2 separate regions of the Homo sapiens genome follow, and region 1 is linked to region 2. Evidence: promoter capture Hi-C in 16 types of primary human blood cells and fetal thymus (Javierre and others, 2016). All regions are on one chromosome and are shown on one strand. Each heading gives the region's core, a stretch centred on a gene start or on the middle of the fragment in contact. The rest is flanking DNA. Distances are from core to core; before and after follow the strand shown. Region 1 has its middle 5.6 kb from the start of TM4SF4. Region 2 holds the start of TM4SF1 (transmembrane 4 L six family member 1).

Region 1 (2,700 bases), core at 5-2,504, 92 kb before region 2:
AACTTGGCCTCCACGAACAAAGAAATGTGAAATATTTTGTCTAAGGGAAGACAGTCACTATTCTCTAAGAGCTCTGACGCTTCATGACTGACTCCTCCATGCCTGGGCCACTTCAACATGAGTGTTCCCTAAAGCACCGGGGTCCTGGGAGAGGCTGAACTACTAAAGGGCCACATGGTCTGGAGAACTAGAAGAAACAGACCTCCCTCTCAGATGTCTCTATCTCACTATCTAGAGTTGTCATCGAGCTCTATAGAAGCAAGCAATTACATGACATTATTGTCCCTATTTTAGAGATGAGGAAACAAAAACAAGTGGTAAACACTGTTCTGGTTATCTTTTTTTTTTTTTGGAACCGGGTATCACTCTGTCACCCAGACTGGAGTGCAGTGGCACAATCTCAGCTCACCAAAGCCTTCACTGCCTGAGCTCAAGCGATCCTCCTGCCTTATCCTCCTGAGGGACCACAGGCACATGCCACCATACCAGGCTAATTTTCTTTTTTTTGAGACAGAGTCTCACTCTGTTGCCCAGGCTGGAGTGCAGTGGCACAATCTCAGCTCACTGCAGCCTCTGCTTCCCAGGTTCAAGCAATTCTTCTGCCTCAGCCTCCCGAGTAGCTGAGAACACAGGCATGTGCCACCATGCCCAGCTAATTTTTGTATTTCTAGTAGAGACGGGGTTTCACCATTTTGGCCAGGCTGGTCTCAAACTCCTGGGCTCAAGCAATCCTCCTGCCTCTGCCTCTCAAATTGTTGGGATACAGGTGTAAGCCACCACATCAGGCCACTGGTTATCTTTTGATGTATAATAAACCAACTCAAAACTGTGTATTTAAAACAATAATCATTTTACTTTATCTCAGGATTTTGTGGGTCAGGAAGATGGGTTGAGACAAACTGGGTGATTATTCTGCTCCAAGTAGTATTGATTGCGGTTATTTGCTGTTGTTCAGTTGTGGCCACATTGGTGTGCAGAATCCAAGGTGGTTTCACTTATATATCAAGGTGGCTTGATGGGAACAGCTATAACACTGGGCTCATATAAAGCTGGGCCCCTCTTTTTCTTCCTTTAGTCTCAGGGCTCTCCATGTGGTTTCTGCAACACTGTAGTTAGACTTTTACATGGTAACATAAGGCTCTGAGATATAAGTAGAAGCTGCCATTGTCTTAAGGCCTGGGCCAGAAAATGGGACAGGGTCACTTTGGCCAATTTTATTGGTCAGTGTAGTCAGAATGATCTCAAATTCAAGGGGAGGGAACATAGACCTCACCTCTTTATGAAAGAAATGTCAGAGAATTTCTGGCCAGCTTTAATTCACCACAGAGATAAAGGTAGATTTAAACCAAAGGAGTCTGATTATAGAGACCATCCTCTTAATCACCACAATATCCTGCTTCAGAAACCAAAGACTGGTACCTATTGTTTGCTCAACACAGAGAGGACAGCCTGCATGCATTTAGGTTTAAATCAAGGGCCTTTCTCTGCTACAGGGTAAATTATCTGGATAATTCCCACAATTGTGTATGGGTAGACACAGCCTGAGTTAGGATTTGCACTTGAGGAGCTAGCAGGCACCATCTACACCTTAAAAGTATCTCCAGTTGTTTTCAAAATTAGAATGAGAAATGCAAATCTCTTCCTGCCTCATGACTCAAAGGGGTGCTATATAGTCCTCTCTAATGCAGGTCTCAGTACAAAAGGGCACAGCTGTGACCTCTCAGAGAGGCATGAGCTCTGGCTGGTAAATCTGTCCCAGATGACCTGCCCAAATATTGATTTGTTTTAGCATTCTTTGATATCATCATGGTTATAGGTGAGAAGTTAACTTTCAACAGGAACTCACCCCTCACCCACTCTCCGTAAGGTAAAACATCACTAACTGCGGTTCCTCATCTTCTTTTTAAAATTAAACATGGGTTCAAAAAGAAACCAAGTTTAAAAATTCATGTTATGGCTTTAAAATGCAGAGAAATTTTAACACTGCATGTGTTTTTAATTTCTATAAATCTGACTTTATATAATTATGTATTATTCTTTTTGTCTGTGCCTTTGTACAAGTGTTTCCCCATTAGTTTTTAAAAATTATTTTTCCAAATAATTTTTGCTTATAAAAATTTACAAACATATTGGGAAATGATAACAACACCAAGACAGCAAGCACAATTTGGAAAAAAAAAAAAACATCAAAAACAACTGTCTTAAAATTTCATGTCAGTGAACTTTCATGGGGGTCAATTTTAGCTTTTGTATATTTATTCTTTTAGCACATTTTTTGAGCACTGATGTGTCAGGTACTGGAGACGTGTTAAATGGACAGAGCTTATAAGAAAAGGAAGATAGATATTAATAATGCTAATAACAGAAAACAGAGCAATTGTATGAAGTTGGTTCTATTTTAATCTGAATTTTACTCATAAGGAAACTGTATCCCAGAGAGATTAAGTAACTTTCCCAAGATCTCATCACTAGTAGCAGGAGACAGGATTTGATCTCAAGCAATCTAGTTTAAAAAAAAAAAGTCTGTGCTCTTAACCTCTACGCATGTTGCCTTTCATTAATCAAACCGTCTCAAAAACATATAATAACAAACTATAATTTGTTCCATGGACTAGAGAGAGCTATGAAAGCATATAGGGTAACAGGGGGATTCCAGTCAGGATAGGGAAGGCTCCCCTGAATAGGCTCCTTTGAAACTAT
Region 2 (2,700 bases), core at 57-2,556:
GGTCCTTTTCTATTTTCTGTACTCTCTATCTTGTCCTGGTGACAAGGCCCTCCAGGCCTGGCCCCACCCGGCCACCCTGTCCACCTCCCACCACCATCCACTGGCTGGTGCAATCTGCTGTTCAAGGCATAAATTTATTCAGTGCCCAGCCCCTCCTTCTGCAAGGTAACCACCTAGAAAGTTAGTCTAACACCCTTTCTCTGCCCTGTGTGGGGAGCCTGTGGAAGCTGGTCTCAGGATCTGGCTGGGTAAACCATCTGTTTACCTCTGTGTGGGTTCTGACACTCCTAGCCAGTTCTGTTTCTCTGAACCTTGTTTCTCCACTCTGCTTGCCAAGTCCCTTTGTCTTATTTTTTTCTCCCTCTCCCTCCTTCCTTCCCTCCCCCCATCCTTCCTTCCTTTTTTCCTTCCTTCCTTCCTCCCTCCCTCCCTTCCTCCCTTTTTCCCTCTCTCCTTCTCTCCCTCCTTCTCTTCTTTCCTTCCTCTCTTCCTTCCTCCTTTCCTCTTTCCTTCTCTCCCATTCTCTTCCTCCCCCTCTCTTCTTCCTCTTTTTATTTTTGTCCCATGCTTTAGGCCTTCCTTGGCCCTTCCTGGCATTGCTTTTCCTGACAGCAACACTCAATAATTTTTAAAAAGCACCTGAGCCCTTTGTGTTGACTGATGCCACCTCTGTTGTGGTGCAGATTTGTTTTAGAGGCAGATGTCCAGGGACGCTGAACACTGAAATCCATCCTGCAGAGCTTGCTGTAGGCAGAGTAAAGAAGTTTGCTCTGTAGTTTTCCCAACAGCCTTCTCAAATCCATGGGAGACGTCTCAGACACCTTGTATTTAATAGACAAGGAAATGAGCTCAGGAGATTTGCCCCAGGTTGTAAATTAAATCAGCACAAAGGTAGAAATGAACACAGAGCTCTCAGATTGGAAGCTGTCCAGACAGCTGCATGGAGCAGGGGCACAGCTCACTGTCTTTCAAAGCCTCAACCAGGGCTGTTGCATCTCGGACACTTGGCAGTTACTGGAAAGTCATGTTAGGCTTTCCTGTTGATTCTTTATCTTGTGGAGGAGTTGCACAGTCAATGCCTTGTTCAAGATTAATCATTTTCCCTGTTGCCTATGACTGAGGCTGTTTCTCACATCCTGCCCCTGGTTTTGCCTGTCCCAAGGATTTCGTCTGAAGGGCGGGACATTCCCCCTGCCTCTTCGCACCACAGCCAGAGCCTGCCATTAGGACCAATGAAAGCAAAGTACCTCATCCCCTCAGTGACTAAGAATCGCAGTATTTAAGAGGTAGCAGGAATGGGCTGAGAGTGGTGTTTGCTTTCTCCACCAGAAGGGCACACTTTCATCTAATTTGGGGTATCACTGAGCTGAAGACAAAGAGAAGGGGGAGAAAACCTAGCAGACCACCATGTGCTATGGGAAGTGTGCACGATGCATCGGACATTCTCTGGTGGGGCTCGCCCTCCTGTGCATCGCGGCTAATATTTTGCTTTACTTTCCCAATGGGGAAACAAAGTATGCCTCCGAAAACCACCTCAGCCGCTTCGTGTGGTTCTTTTCTGGCATCGTAGGAGGTGGCCTGCTGGTAAGTCATTCAGGATTATTACTGAATTCTCTCCTGTTTCCTAGATGTTTTCATTATGTATTTTCATGGAAAGTTTTTTGTAATGCATATTTCTAAATCAAGTGACTTTTTTGTTGCTGTTCATTCCTTTGAAAGCAGATTATACAAAAGCGAGATTGGTACAGTATAGCGTAGTAATTTTATGAGATGTTGTTTTACAAAATGCTCTTTCAACTAAAAGTGAACTGCCTTTTTGCTAAACTCTATAGGTAGGAAACAGATATTCGCTTTTAAATCAGATTTGAGAGACTATAGAGTTTCTACTAGAACGGGCAGTCATTTAACATTTGCTCTGGGGAGCCGGAAGGGGTTGGCTGGTTCTCTGCCTAAATCAACAGTTTTGAATCCAAATTCTCTGCTGTTTATTTTCAGCCATCTGTGATAGGGAAAAATAATGAATTGTGAGTGCATTGCTATTTTAAAAGAACTCTAAGCTTTCTCCTTTATGTAAGGCTGGGGTGTGGCGTCTAGGAAAAACCCTACAGTTAGCAGCAGGTCGGTGTCTGAAGCTAATAGTGGAATGTGTTATTTTTTCCAAGAATTGTTTTTGATTGAAGTGAGAGGAATTTCCCTGCCAACCTGGGAGCTGAAAGCATTAGCTTCAACCACAGCATGGAAAGAATGTGAGCAAACTTAAGTTTGCTACTTTAAAGTGCTGGGATTAAAAATTTTAAGGAGAAATTTTATGGAATGGTACCATACGTGATAAATTTTCTTAATCAAGTAAAAGATAGTAAAACATTTAAACCTAATACACTGATTATGGCATGGCAAATCTGCCCTAAATTATTTATTTAATGAGATTTTATTTAATTTTATTTTATTTAATGAGACGGGGTTTCGCCATGTTGCCCAGGCTGGTCTTGAACTCATGGGCCCAAGTGACCCTCCTACCTTGGCCTCCCAAAGTGCTGGGATTACAGGCATGAGCCACAGTGCCCGTCTGCCTCAAATTTAAGCATTATTATCATGTTAACATGATTATTTGTCTTAAACATAACATCACACTTAAGTTTCTTTCGATCTTGAACCTGAAGTATTTCATATTTACTATATTTTAAGAGCTTAATATTGTTA

The links. The method cuts DNA at HindIII sites, captures the fragments that hold promoters and counts their contacts. A CHiCAGO score of 5 or more calls a contact.
Region 1: a fragment that was not itself captured here is called in contact with the fragment with the promoter of TM4SF1 in region 2 in 1 of 17 cell types (endothelial precursors); the score reaches 7.4 in endothelial precursors.

What each region holds. Positions count from the first base shown.
Region 1 is chr3:149,467,715-149,470,414 of GRCh38, reverse strand. No RefSeq gene overlaps it. Among named protein-coding and RNA genes, the nearest start is that of TM4SF4, 5.6 kb to the left of the region's middle. The HindIII fragment of the contact is 3,012 bases long and covers 1-2,700 here.
Region 2 is chr3:149,376,255-149,378,954 of GRCh38, reverse strand. TM4SF1 (transmembrane 4 L six family member 1) reads left to right here and starts at 1,306. Exons shown (of 5, transcript NM_014220.3): 1 at 1,306-1,584. The coding sequence starts at 1,408. TM4SF1-AS1 (TM4SF1 antisense RNA 1) reads right to left here and starts at 1,177. Exons shown (of 2, transcript NR_109810.1): 1 at 640-1,177. The HindIII fragment of the contact is 5,350 bases long and covers 1-2,059 here.